2 separate regions of the Homo sapiens genome follow, and region 1 is linked to region 2. Evidence: promoter capture Hi-C in human tissues and cell types (Jung and others, 2019). All regions are on one chromosome and are shown on one strand. Each heading gives the region's core, a stretch centred on a gene start or on the middle of the fragment in contact. The rest is flanking DNA. Distances are from core to core; before and after follow the strand shown. Region 1 has its middle 33 kb from the start of DEFA5. Region 2 holds the start of DEFA4 (defensin alpha 4).

What was found. The method cuts DNA at HindIII sites, captures the fragments that hold promoters and counts their contacts. A contact is called where the count stands out against the background at its distance.
Region 1: a contact is called between a fragment that was not itself captured here and the fragment with the promoter of DEFA4 in region 2, in 4 of the 25 tissues and cell types used here (liver, mesendoderm cells, pancreas and 1 more).

What each region holds. Positions count from the first base shown.
Region 1 is chr8:7,085,946-7,093,132 of GRCh38, reverse strand. It overlaps the pseudogene LOC107986875. Among named protein-coding and RNA genes, the nearest start is that of DEFA5, 33 kb to the right of the region's middle. RefSeq lists enhancers at 348-1,041, 3,315-4,074. The HindIII fragment of the contact is 7,338 bases long and covers 653-7,187 here.
Region 2 is chr8:6,937,056-6,944,282 of GRCh38, reverse strand. It overlaps DEFA4 (defensin alpha 4), which reads left to right and starts at 5,977. Exons shown (of 3, transcript NM_001925.3): 1 at 5,977-6,057. RefSeq lists a silencer at 6,172-6,241. The HindIII fragment of the contact is 4,214 bases long and covers 4,467-7,227 here.

The DNA of each region.
Region 1 (7,187 bases), core at 3,072-5,571, 150 kb before region 2:
CATCTGCCCTCCAAACTCACGTGCCTCCCCAGTGGAAGGCCAGCAAAGCCACACAGGAAGAGTTGGGGTAGGAAAGCAGAAAGTGAACCCCAGGAGGCCAGGCTGGCCACGGAGCCCCATCCCACACACACAGGCCCGGTGACTCAGGGGCCCACGTGTGCAGGACACCGGGAGCTCATAGGGACAGCGCCCCGGGGGATGCAAGGAACTTTGCCTCTCTGTCCCTCTCTGTAGGGATGGAAAGAGAACAATTTCTGGGATGGAAGCCATCTGCCTCCTCTCAACTCTGGCTGCCCAACTAGAAAGGGAAAAAAAAACAGGAAGATGCGGGACAGGTGAGGAGCTGGGTGAGCGCCACCAGCCCGCAGCCCAGCAGAGCAGGGCTTGGCCAAGCCTGGCGCCAGGGACTTCCCCCCTGCCCCCACCACATGCCCCTCGCCAGGTGAGAGGCACCGACAGACTCCCAGACAGATGTCCCAGACAGGATGCCCAGCGCAACACCCGCCACTTCCCCTGCTGGGGGCCCCCAGGACACGGGGCTGCCCCTCCCCTTTTGGCCAGCCACAGAGTCCAGCGGGTATCCCAGCCAGGGACCTCGTGGGAGAATCAGGAAGTCGAAGCCACACAGCCGAGAAGGGGCAGCTGGCGTCTCGGAGGCCGTCACGAGCTGTCACTCCGCGCCCGCCGGACTTGCCGCTCAATTACCAACTTCAACCCGGGACCGGCCACGGAGCCTCCCGCCGCCTCTACCCCGCGTCCCCGGCACCTCCGCGCCCCCGGCAGCCCCGGACCCCCGCGCCCGCGTCACTTACTCCTCTGCCGTCGCCACCTGTCTAGGTGCCGGTCTCCTCCCTGCCCGGCCGCAGCGCGTCCTCCCCGTCCTCGCAGTCCTCGGGCTGTGCGCTTCCCCCCTCCAGCAACAGCCGTAGCCTCTTCTCTTCGGGAGGGACGTCGTCCTCCTCCCTCCTGGGCCGGCCATCCCTGCCTCGGGGCTTGCCAGTGGCTTCGGAGCTGCCGGAAGGGCTGGCCATGGCTCCAGGGGCTCTGCCTGCACTTGGGAAGAAGAAGCACCCGGCGCGAGCGGCCTCTCGGCGGAGCTGGGGCGTCTGAGCGCGGGCTCGTTGGGTCCGCGCGGCGCGGAGCTGGGCATCCGGCTGGCGCGGGCTCCTCCGCGGGCCGCTCCTGGCTCTCTGGCGCCCTCTGCTGGCCTCTCCCGCGCAGCGCGGACACGCCGGGCCCGGGACTGCGCCGCTCTCACCTGTCCTGGCCCAGGCGGTCGCTGTCCCTTGCCCGTGGCCAGGCCCGCTCTGGCCAGGCCCTGCACCTCCTCCCCGCCCCAGCCAGGTTGCACCCCGATAGTCTCCCTGCCCAAGGAGGAGAGAAGACAAGGGACGCCCGGATAGGGTGGATATCGGCCACAGCCACCTTGTCTTTGCTCTTACCCTGTTTCTTCCATGATTTGGAGGGGGTGGGAAACCCGAGGCTGCTCAAAACTCGTGGAGAATTCCGCCTGCAGGATGACATGAATGCACCTTCGCATTGCCTACCAACAGATCTTTTTTGAGCATCACTGTGGACCAGGCGTGGTGATGGGGGAGGGGATATTGCGGTGAACATGACAGGCATTGCCTTCATCCAGTGGGGCTCAGCGCTGGGTGAGAAGGCATTGAGAATGGACATTGTCAATTCGGCCAAAGGAGGCCAAGGAGAAGTGCTGGGGGCATGGGAACTGAAAAAGACAGGAGGCTCAGCCGGTCTTGCAGCTGGGAGAGGGACAGCAGCAGCGGCTGTTCCAAAGGAAGCAACAGCTGAGAGAGGTCTCAGAGAGTTGTTCTCAGCCCAGTGGAGGGTGTTCAGGCAGAGGGAACAGCGTGTGCAAAAGCCCAGAGGCTGGGAAAGAAGCAGAAAGAGGACTGTGGGGCTGGAGCGTGGTGGGCAAGGGGCGACAGGCGTGGTGGGCGGACAGATTGCCTGGGACCCAGCCGTGCAGGGGCAGAGGAGATAGGGGATCCTTGCAGACCCTCAGCCAGGGCTCAGGCACAGAGACAGTGCAGGTGGGCAAAGGGAGGAGACGTGGAGAAATATTTTGGAGGCATGCCCTGATGAATGAGCCCAGGATGCACCCTTAGTGTCAGTGTGGAGCTCCTTCCTTGGCTGTGTGATGAGCTGAACCCGGGCGTATTTTCTGGACATCGAAGTGCTACACCCAGAGTCCAGGACAGGCTAAGTGAGCACCAGCAGCTCCTGGCCCATCTCAAAAGCAGGAGAGACAGGGGAGACTGGGGAGGCCAGGGAGGAAGGGGAAGCCAGGAAGTCAGGAGAGGCCAGGGATGCAGAGGAGGCCAGGGAGTAAGGGGAAGCCAGGAAGTCAGGAGAGGCCAGGGATGCAGAGGAGGCCAGGGAGGCAGCGGAGGCAGGACAGGCTGGGGAGGCTGTGTCCTTTCCATGATTCTGCCCAGGATCCTAGGCCCCTGTACTCCCTGAGCTTCCCCACCGCAAGCGCTGGAACCATGTTGCACAATGGTCTCCCCACTGAGCTCCTGATGGCAGCCCCTACACTGCTGTGCTCCCTATTTCAACCCTAACAGCTCTCACAGTGGGCAGCACATAGTAGGTGCTCAGGAAACACTGGTGGGAGAGCACGTGGGTCTGCTCAACTCTTTCCTCTCTCCTCCAGCTCTCCCCTGTCACGAAATAATTCTGATAACGACACATGGGCTTTGAGACCCTCTTCTATTACTTTCCAAATGCTAATCCATCTATACCTCACAGCAGCCCTGGGGGTGGGTGCAATGAGGATTCCCATTTTATAGAGGAGGAGACTGACATATAAAGAGGGTAAATGACATAGGCACACTACAAGGGCTGGGGCCAAGTGGTCACAGCACTCAATCCCCAAAGGCAAGGTGGATGCAGTTACCATAAAAGACAGCAGAGTCAAAGCTGCAACCAGAATAGCCTGACTCGCAGAGACCTATGGTGCCAGCTGATCGTGGCTTTCCTAGAAGTGAAAGAGATAAGAAGCCTGCCACATTTTTACTTGATCTGTGTTTGCAGAAGAGTTCTAGGTCAGGTGAGCAGAAGTGTAATCTGAATCATAAAAACAGAGTCACAGTCTCCCGTCAATTCCCAGACGTGAGCCAGTTCACAGACCCGGAGTCACTTGTCTGAATGGGAAGCCAGGTTCCCTCCAGAAAGGACTCTGCTACACTGCCAAAAATTAATACTGTCCATCTTTCTCCCAGCCTGCGCCCAAGGGAATACACAGCCTTTTACCAGGATGACTGAATAGGAGAAAAGGAACTAATGGGACCTGTGCAGGATCACTGGACACAGGCTCTGAACTGGCACTAGGGTGAGACTAGGGTCTACTAGTCAGAATAGGCATTTTGGAGGTCAGGTGAATGTTGGTGCAAGTTCATGTCATGGTAGATCCATTGGGTCCCCAAATCCAACCTCTGGTTATATACAAAGTGGCCATGTTGAGATTTAAATTCAGGGTATCCAACTTAGAGGCTGGGCTCTTACTCATGAAACATTCTGACACTACTAACCAATTTAAAAATGCAAACACCTCCTGGGGCTAGCCAGAGTACTCCAAACAGTCATGTAAATTGGTTCTGTCAAGGATTTCCTCCTACACACCCCCCCCACCCCAACCCGAGAGCCAGTTGCAAGGAGAGACTAGGGAAGGGCATTGGGTAACTTTGTTGCTAAAAGTCTTCTGGATAAAGAAGAGCTTTATCCAGGAAAAAGAAGCAAAATAGAGTTCAGCAGAAGTTGAGAAAAGAAGCAAATAGAGTTCAGCAGAAGAGGTAAGAAAGTAAGTTTATGTTTGACCAGGCATGGTGGCTCACGCCTGTAATCATAGCACTTTGGGAAGCCAAGGCAGGCAGATCACGAGGTCAAGAGATCACACCATCCTGACCAACATGGTGAAGCCCCGTCTGTACTAAAAATTCAAAAATTAGCTGGCCATGATGGCACAGGCCTGTAGTCCCAGCTACTCGGGAGCCTGAGGCAGGAGAATCACTTCAACGCAGGAGGCAGAGGTTGCAGTGGGCCGAGATCATGCCACTGCATTCCAACCCGGTGACAGAACAAGACTCCATCTCATAAAACAAAACAAAACAACCAAAAAAGTAAGCTTATTTTTAAGCCTGAACAAGTGTAGTGGTTTAGGGGTTCTGCAAACACGGCCCCAATCAGGCTACAGTATGTAGTGGCAGCAATATTTACACCCAGTCACTCCTGGCCGGCTGAGCCACTTTTCAAAACACCCTTGCACGGCTGCGCAGAGCGACTGGCTCCACTGGCAGCCAGCAGAGCCATAACTCACACTGTCACCACTGCCCTCAAACCCCTTCGGTAAGCACGTTTTTTGAGACGGAGTCTTGCTCTGTCATCCAGGCTGGAGTGCAGTGGCACAATCTCGGCTCACTGCAAGCCCCGCCTCCTGGGTTCATGCCATTCTCCTGCCTCAGCCTCCCAAGGAGCTGGGACTACAGGTGCCCGCCACCATGCCCGGCTAATTTTTTGTATTTTTAGTAGAGATGGGGTTTCACCGTGTTAGCCAGGATGGTCTCAATCTCCTGACCTTGTGATCTGCCTGCCTCGGCCTCCCAAAGTGCTGGGATTACAGGCGTGAGCCACCGCGCCCGGCCTGGTAAGCACTTTTAATCAATGCAACGGGAATAAACATTTGCAGCAGAGCGGCAATGTGCAGGGAGGAACATGCTTCCACTCAGGCTCAGAAAGCAAAACCTCCTGGCTGTTTATGTCTCTGCAAGAGCTCACAGCAAAAGCCCTCTGTGTGGCTGCCAGCCTCACACACTCCCCCCAAGGGATGAGTTTCTCTTTCCATGTTAATCTATGTTCTGTCGTGCCATCTGTCAACCACCACACCATTCTCAGTTGACATTTCAAAGCATCTTTGCCCTGTGAATGGTCACCAGCCCTGCCCTGCAAGCCCCCAGCTGACATTGAACTGAAATGAGAGAGAAAACAGGCTTCGGGGTGGATTTCAGTTCAGCATCTTGGAGTCTCTGTGTGGACATGAAATCTGTCTCCCCAGCTGTGGGCTGCATCTTTGTTTGTCATCTGGCTTGGTTCTTGGGGACTTGGAAACTCGTAGGCACCTTTGCAATTTGTCAAGAAGCTGCACGGCCCTTCCAACAAAAGCAAGGAATAGGAACAGAAGCCCAAGGCTTCAGATCAAGGTGCAACTTAAAACAGCCTCAGTGTAAAAGCAAACAAGAGTCAGAGGGATGCCTAAGGCAGAGTCTAGTTCCCAGGGCAGCTATAAGGCAAAGAGAAAGAGAGAGAGGACAGAGACAGAAAGAAGAGAGAGATGGGAGGAGACATGAGGCACCCAGTCCTCTGGATCAAAATCCCTACAAGAGGGGCCTCCTAAAAATGCAGGAGGCTGAGGTGGGTGCACACAGAAGTTCAAGACTAGCCTGGGCAACATAGCAAGACCGTGTCTTTACAAAAAATACAAAAATTAGCCGGGTGTGGTGGTGTATGTCTGTGGTCCCAGTTACCCAGGAGGCTGAGGTGGGAGGATGGCTTGAGCCCAGGAGGTAGAGCTGCAGCGAGCTGAGATAGCACCACTGCACTCCAGCCTGGGCAACAGAGTGAGACTTCATCTCAAAAAAAATTTAAAAAATTTTTAAAAGGATCACCCTGGCTACTTGAATGGGTAATTAGAAGGTAAGAGCAGAAGCAAGGAGACCAGCAGGGACATTCTGCAGGTGGGAGTCCACAGTGGCTCAGACCAGGCTGACGCTGAAGACTGGCTGAATTCTGTATATATTTTGATGATGAAGCAACTCACCGACTCTTGAAGAGTGGGCTCTAGGAGACTGCATTTTTAACAAGCTCTCAGAGAATGCTAATGCAGGCTGCAGTTGCAGAACTGGTTTAGGTGAAGCTTCTGTTTCATCCTTGGGGAAGTACCTACTGACTTTTCTCTAAGCCACCTCAAAAGAGGTGCTAGACAAGATGTGCTCCAATGTCTGAACATGTGTGCACAGCTCTAGAGCCAACCTCAGGACACTGAGTCAAAGGTTAGGAGTACAACAGTGAACAACCACTGTCCTCTTTTCAATGAGCTTTGCATTTAATGAGAGAAATAAAAAGCAAAAAAAAAAAATCATTTTCAACTCAGAATGGTAAGAGTTATGGTGACAGTATGCCTGGGGCAATGGGAGCACATAGAAGGGGCACCCAATCGGCCAGGTGCAGTTGTTCATGTCTGTAATCCCAGCACTTTGGGAGGCCAAGGTGGGTGGATCACTTGAGGCCAGGAGTTCGAAAACAACCTGGCCAACATAGTGAAATCCTGTCTTTACTAAAAATACAAAAAAATTAGCCAGATGTGGTGGTGGTCACCTGCAATTCCAGATACTCAGAAGGCTGAGGTGGGAGAATTGCTTGAACCCGGGAGGCGGAGATTGCAGTGAGCCAAGATCGCGTCACTGCATTCCAGCCTGGGTGGCCAGAGCGAGAGTCCGTCAAAAAAAAAAAAAAAAAAAAGCCCGGAGGTGGGTGGGCATGCAATCTCTATCAGGTGGTGAGAAATCCTTCTCCACCACAGGACTCCTCAGTTGAAGACTAGAAAATGGTAGGAACTAGCCAGGTCGATAGGAGAGGTGTGGAAGATCATTCTCAGCAGAGGGAAGAGCATGTGCAAAAATCGAGACGTGAGAGGGTGAGGAGCTGAGAGATGTTCATATAATTGTAAAAAGTGACTAATGTAGAGGTAAGTTGGAGCCAAATCTTAAAGGCTCTTTGTCGTGTTTATCCTGTAGACAAAGGGAGACAGTAGATGTTTTTAGGCAGGGGAGTCATGATCCACTTTGTGCTAGAAGAAGAGCAGTCTGGCTGAAGGAGAGTGGGAGGTGAGTAGACCAGGTAGGAGGCTGCAATACACCAAGTGAGACAAGATGGTTGGCTGGACCAAGGCTGTGGCAGTGAGGATGGAGAGGAGACAGTAGACTAACTTGACTGAGAAAGAGGGAGGAATGAAGGAGGAGGCCCAGGTGTTTTGGAAGCTGGGTGGATGGTGGTGTGGATCTGATGTGGCGAGCCCAGGCCGAAGAGGAAATCAGGAGAGGCAAGGTAAGATGAGATCAATGCAAGACAGACAGCCAAGTGGAGATAAACAGTGGGCAGTTGCATTCATC
Region 2 (7,227 bases), core at 4,728-7,227:
TTGCCTATTGTTTGTCTCCTCCACTAAAATATAAGACGGAAACAGTGCTTGCCACTCTGTGGCGCTGGAATCCAAGTAGAGCAGCCACCAGATTGTCCTCCAGGACCATTAAGGCCCTGATTCCAGATACAGTCAAGTTAACAGAGGGCATACAAAGGCCCAGGGCACAACATTTCACAGCAGGAGACTTGGCCAATGCATTCTGCCCATTCCCATCACAGACGGGTCGCAGTCTGTGTTTGCTTTGACTTTGGAAGGGACCCAGTGCACATTTACCAAATTGCACTCAGGCTGTCTCAGTAAGCCAGCTACTGCCCATAACTCGTGCCCCCGGGACTTCCTGTGATTCAGTGTGAACCCCTGTACCTTGTGGCATTACATTGATAGCATTTTCCTCAGAAGCCCCTAGAAGAAGGAAGTGAAAACCATGCTGGTCATTTTAGTGGCTTCCTCCAAGACCATGGCTGGGCCACAACCCACACAAAGTTCAGGCCCCGCACTGCTGTAAAGATTCTAGAGATAACCTGGTCCTCAGTGGGCCACCAAATTCACCTTGCAGTTAAAACCAAAGTCTTCACCATTAGGGTGCCAGCCACTTTGTGGCAGGCCCTGCGCATACTGGGACATTCCGCCTGCACCTACACCTCACTTGTCCATTCTGCAGAGGCCCACAGACACTGTCACCCAGAAGCCCTCCATGTCTTAACTGGGGCCACAGCAGGATACAGCATGCAGCTGGCTCAGCAGGTGGTCTCTCAGGCCATGCCCAGGTCCCGGGTTCTGAGTTTCATATAGAGGCCCTCAGTACCACCAATCATGACTCCCAGAGCCTCTGGAGAAAGCACGTCCATCCTGGCTATGGGCTTCTGCAGGCATAAACTTCCTGGCAGCTGCAGCTCATTATCCCCCGTTAAAAAGCTGGCTACCACTACACACAATGCCCGTATAGACATAGGCACTACAGGACAGGTTCCGGTGCTGCTGTGTCCCCAGACTCCAGCCATGCCCCATGTCTGACTCCTCCTGACAGAGGCTCAGCCATTCATGTCTCCCTGGGAAAATGGGAACAGCACTTGTAGGACAAGGCAAACCTGGCACTTAAGTCCTTTCAAGTGACAGGAAGCTGAGGCCATGGTTTCCCTGTTATTCAGCTCCTGCCTACAAGCAGAGAGAAATAGCAGCAGCGACCCTATTGCCCGAACAATTGGTGACCTGATGAGGCCATGGGAAGAGTTGGACATGGGGAGTCCACATACCTCAGGGAAGGCAGCACTGCCCTGCAGGCCGGGAGCCCACTGGCCGGCAACCACCTCCCACATTTATCACAGCAGGGCCTGCATAGGAGGGGAGGGTATGCTGAGCCCAGCCATACAGCTGGTGGTGCCGGTTGCAGGGGAGGTTGCTGTGGCCATAACCCCCACTCGGGGACAGTTTTTACAGATTCCTGGGCTGTGCCCAACATATTGTGAGTGCCCTGGATCCAATGCCTCTGGAATGGCCTCTGTGGCGTGGACCTGTTTGGGTCAAATTAGGGGACACTCCAGTCCTCCTATAGGTGATTCATGCCTCATGCATTCAGAACAAACATGCCCAGGCTACTTTCCACCACTCGAAGGGTGAGGCATCCACAGTGAGACGACTGCCATCTTTGGCCTCCAGACTGAGCCTGCTGACAGCCCCTGATGTCCTGTCCCCAGGAGGTTAGCGGTCAGATGCACCTCCCAGGGCTTGGGTGAGATCCTCTTATTTTTACAGACTCCAGAATCTCAAGTTCTGTATTCCTCAGGTGCTGACAGAGTGGAGTCCTACAGCCCCAGATCATGAGAGCTACAGCCACATTAGAGGGCAACCCACACCACAGCTGTCTCCCACCATAGCTTCAGGCAAGCAAAACTGTGGCCAGCAATCCCTTGTTCCTGGGCCATCACCCTTTCAGCTGGTGGCAAATGGACTTCACTGGGCCTCTCCCATCACAGCCACCACCTTCTGCTGTGCAGGAGCAGACACACATCCACCGCACTTCCATTGACTCTTCCAACCCAAGGCTCTTGGTAGAGAAAGGTGCTCTCTTTCTGTGACATTTGCTCTATTACCTCTTGTGAACCACCAGATATCACTGATGCAGATCAGGGCTCCCACTTCAGGGTGGTGCTGGGCAACTCAGCATGGGGGTTAGGGGACCCTCACTTAGCCACTGGCCTCCTCAAGCAACACAGTGGCCTCCTAAAGTCATGCTTATTAAAGTTGTGGCATGAGCACAGACTAAGTCAAATTAGGAAAGGCTCCAGTCCCCCTACAAGTGGTTCATCAAGGGAACCAAGCTCCTTTGAGAGCCTTAACTATCTTAATTCTCAACACCATGGCCACCAGCTCTTCTACAATTGGACCAGACCAACCATGGCACCCACCCTGGTGATCACAGAAGAGTTGAGCTCTTTTTCCCTTATGGATACCATCACCCACATTTTCTGCAATAATGAGACCCCCTCATACCATCACAAGATGTCCACTGTCTCAGCATCAAACATTTACTAAAGACTCGATCGAGGATGGACAGTGATAGGGTTTGGCTGTGTTCCCACCCAAATGTCATCTTGAATTCCTATGTGTTGGAGGGACCTGGTGGGAGGTAATTGAATCATGGAGGCAGGTCTTTCCCATGCTGTTCTCATGGTAGTGAATAAGTTTCACAAGATCTGATGGTTTTATATAGGGAGTTTCCCTGCAGAAGCTCTCTCTTTGCCTGCTGCCACCCACGTAAGACTTGACTTGCTCCTTTTGTCTTCTACCATGATTGTGAGGCCTCCCCAGCCATGTGGAACTGTGAGTCCATGAAATCTCTTTCCTGCATAAATCACCCAGTCTCGGGTAGGTCTTTATGAGCAGCATGAAAATGGACTAATACAGATAGTGAGCTGTGATCCTCTGGGGACTGATGGTCCAGGCAGCTGCCACAGAGCAGCCCTAAGATGCTTCTGCTACACCAGACCTCACCTCTTGACATACAGCCTCCAGCAGAAGCTCCAGTTCTTCCTGCTTTGAAAGGTAGCTAATATCTCCCACTCACTCCTCCCTGAAGGAAGTGGGGATTGTTTCTCTGCAGCCCAAAGAGGGTACAGTCTGGGTCACTAAATGAGGAGAAAAAGCCATCAAACTAGAGGACGCCAACTACATCAGACAAAGACCACATGGAACTACCATCACCATGTCCTGTGTCGATTGCAGAAAAATGCTCTGAAGAAATGTTGGTGAAAGCCCACCCCATAATCAATATCGACGTAAAAGTACCTTGAGGAAATCCCTGAGTTATAAGCTGTCAGTGCTCTCTATCTTTGGCCTTGCTGGGTATCTTATGTATGTAAATGTTGTACGGCTGCTCTTAGGCCTGGGGCCTGGCATCCCAGAGAGCTGCTGGAACAGGACAGCCACTGTGAGAAATTGAACCCCAGGCTGGAAAACTGTGGCATGTTGAGGCAATGTGCTAGAGGGGCAAAACCCCAAATGCCACCTGACCTGGATCCAAGCCAGGAAACCCGATCCTTAGATATTGAATGGGACCCATGGCACTAAAGCTTAAACACCAGCAACCCCCACAATCAGAGGCAGGTGGCCCTCCCCATGACCAGGCATGAATACAAACCAGCTAATGATGCCTCAGCACAAACTCAGTCTGTGGCCGGAAAGGTTGGAGCCTCACATGCAGAGAAAGCATTCAAACACGTTCATGGGCTTAGGGATACTTCTGTGCTCCAAAGTATGTGAGTTGTGGATGGAAATGTCCTATCCCCCGACCAAGGAAAGCACCACTCAAGCTTTCACTAAACGCTTCCATGGAGTCCCACAGAGGCCAGAGGCCTGTGCAACACCAGCCCATACCCTCTCTCTTCTTGAGTGACCAGCTGGAAAGGCCACCCCTACCCGAAAGGCCATCACCTCAGAAGACAGTGCTCTGATCCAAGGGTTTGTCCTGGGAAACAGTGGCCTCACCAGAACCAGAGACACCAAGGAATCTCATCTTGACTGTGGGGTCATCCCCAAACCAGACTCACCTTACTCTCCTTCCTGCCGCAAGGTATGGATCTCACCACCCCCGGGACATGGAGTTGGCTCACGTCCAGTACCTGGACCCGTGCTTTCTTAGCTCATGCTTTCCTGAGGACCCTGCAGATGACCCCTTAGAATGGTATTTTGCTGGGATCCCCATTTGTCTTCAGTGTAACCCATTAGTTAAACCGCCTACTGCAAGGAAACCACAAGGCTTGGATCAGATCAGGAGGCTGCCCTACAAGTTATGCCAAAAAATATGGACTTGGAAGACCTGTCTGTTATAATATCACACCCAAATCTAACCAGCTCTGCCAATAACAGCTCTCTCCTATGTTACTAGGAAAATGCCTATGGATTGGAGTGTGTTCTGTGTGCAGGAGGCTGGTCCAGGTTTCACTTCTGCAGGACACTGGACATCCCCACAACCACCAGACCTTCCCCACGTGCACACACACCCCTTCTCATTTTGCCTCTACATCCATATCCACTGGGCCCTTCAGGCACCTACTAATGCCCTAGAACCTAAAACCATCATCTGGGGCCCAGTTCCCCAAATAGCCCTAATTTCTTCCTCTGCTGGAATGAGTCCAGTGCCCACTTCCTCCAAAGGTGAAATTGCTGGGCCTGCAACAGATCAGGAACTCACTGCTTCCTCATAGGGGCAGCCGACTTCACTGCTCTGGAACAGCGACCACCCCTAGCGAGGCTTGAGATGCCTCTTCCCTCCTTAAGACTGAGAGCGCCGCTGCCCCCAGTCCTCCATAGCCCAGTGCCTGCTGCCTTCACGCAGAGCTGCAGGGGAGGCCCTGAGCACCCAGCCTGCTGGACCAGCGCTGTGCACGGCCCTCCCATGGCGGCAGGGGCTGCCTGGACTGCATACTGGGTTCAGCAACCTCACTATAGGTATTCATTCCCTCAGGAACAACTGCATTCTTTTCTCATTTCCAGAAACCTCATCCCGTTTACCTCACTACAAGGAGGAGGATGGTGGAGAGTGGTACATTTTAAAATGTGCACTAGTCTCCCTGGGACTCCCCTTCAAATAACCCAGGAGGGACCACACAAGGGAAAGCTTATGCATCCCCCCCACCCAGTGACCATCTTCCTAACTCTGGGTGTAGGGAGACTCGTAAGCCTACGGGATTGGTTTGGGAACAGGGTATTTGAGCTCACAACACAAGGTGATGCAAGCTAACACCAATCTCGCTGCAGCTTTGGCCACCATCCTAAGGGACTTCTGACAGACATTAGGTGTCACGCAATCATTTGATGAGTCCTTGGCCTGGATGACCTAGACAGTCATTTAGGCTTGAACTATCTAAGGCCAAGCAAAAAGGTGACTGTCCCCTCTAGGGAACCACATGCTATATGCACATCCTTTACTCGGGAGCCTGCAACCTGCCCTATCCAGCAACACAAGCCCAGGCGGTATTCAGTCTCATCCAGGTATTCTCCAACCTTACTTGTCTGAATGGCTTGGATTTGTTTTTATGGTTAGACCCCAGGGCCTGGGGAGGTCAGTTCAGACCACATTCCAAATCCTCATCTGTGTGTGGGTGGCATTTTGATCCTAGTCTCCTCGCAAGGTGTATACAACAATATGCAGGCCAGGCTCTCCTGGTGGCTTTAAATATTCCCTCGGTCCAGGTAGTTCAGCCTCAGCCACCAGCATAGGTATCATGGGGTCAATTGTCTTAGGAGTCATGAGGAATCCATAGTTGATTGCTGCCTGGGCCTGGCCAGGGCTGACCAAAGTAGACGAGGGGTCGGTACCTCCGTGGACTCCTGCTTGAACTCCAGCTTTCTGCCAAATTTCTCAACTGCCCTTGTTAACAGTTATTTAAAGTACCCAATAGAAAGTAACCCTGAAAAATTAGGACACCTGATACCAAAAGACCCTTAAATAAGGAAGTCCTCTCCTCTGTGTGCATGGCTGCTCTTGCTACATAAGACCTGGAACACAGGACTGCTGTCTGCCCTCTCTGCTCGCCCTGCCTAGCTTGAGGATCTGTAAGTAACACAAAACTTAAACTTTCACATTGAGGTTTCAATATTGAAGCTGTGTCCCCAGTCTGACCTCTCACTGTGGGGCCACCCCAGAGGGACCCAGCGGGTGAAGCCCCTGCTGTGAACTTCTATCTGGGTGTCTGGCGGCTGCTGGGGGTAATGGCTACTAGCTAAGTCAATAGAGAAACTCAAAAAGTTTCCTTCCAAACACACGTGTCCTACTTGACATGTCCAATAAAGACGATCACAGCTTCTTAAAACATTATTTTATTGTGAGAGAAGCCTCTGCAGGTCCTAGGTCTGTTTTTCAATCAGGTTGTTTGTTTTTTGCTATTGAGTTGTTTGACTTCCTTATGTATTCAGATATTTACCCCTTCTACCACGTAGGCTTTGCAAACATTTTCTCTCATTTTCTGGGTTGCCGTTTCCCTCAGTTGATTGTTTCCTTTGCTATGAAGATGCTTTAGCGTTCAATGCAGCCCCGCTTGTCTATTTTCCCATTTGTTTATTGCCTGTGCCTTTGGTGTCATAGCCAAGAAATCATTACTCACGTCAATGTCCAAAGCTTTATCTTTGTATGTGCTTCTCGTAGTTGTATGGTTTCAGGTCTTTTCAAGTCTATGTTGAGTCTTCAATCCATGTTGAGCTGATTTTTTACATGCTGTGAGAGAAAGGACCACGTGTATGCACCTAGCAACTCATGAACCTTACACAACTCTTTATCTCTCTCACTGAGCTCATTTCACCTGTACCCTGATAAGGTCATTGTCCTCTTCACTCTGGCCCCTACAGGAGACTACTCACCCCATTACCTCAGTCGCCCCTTCATGAGGGTATAATGACCTAGAAGCCTGCAATGAGTTACTCTCTACTCCACCGGAATACAGGTCTGGCACCAGTGTTTAGACCTGAAGAGAATAGTAGGGCCCATTATCAGGAAATAAGAGGCATTTGCTCTCTTAAATTATTGAATGAAAGCACTGTTTCCATTCTTTTTAGAATATTAAAGATTTAACCAGGAAATATTAGGTATTTCCTGAAAACAGGAAAAAATGCCAGGGTCCTCATCATCACCATCAACTTCAACCTAGCACAGACACTAAACATAGAGCTTCCTGTGAAGAAAGCTGGGAGAGCAGAGGAGCATTCCAGGGATGTCAAGGCCAATAGGAG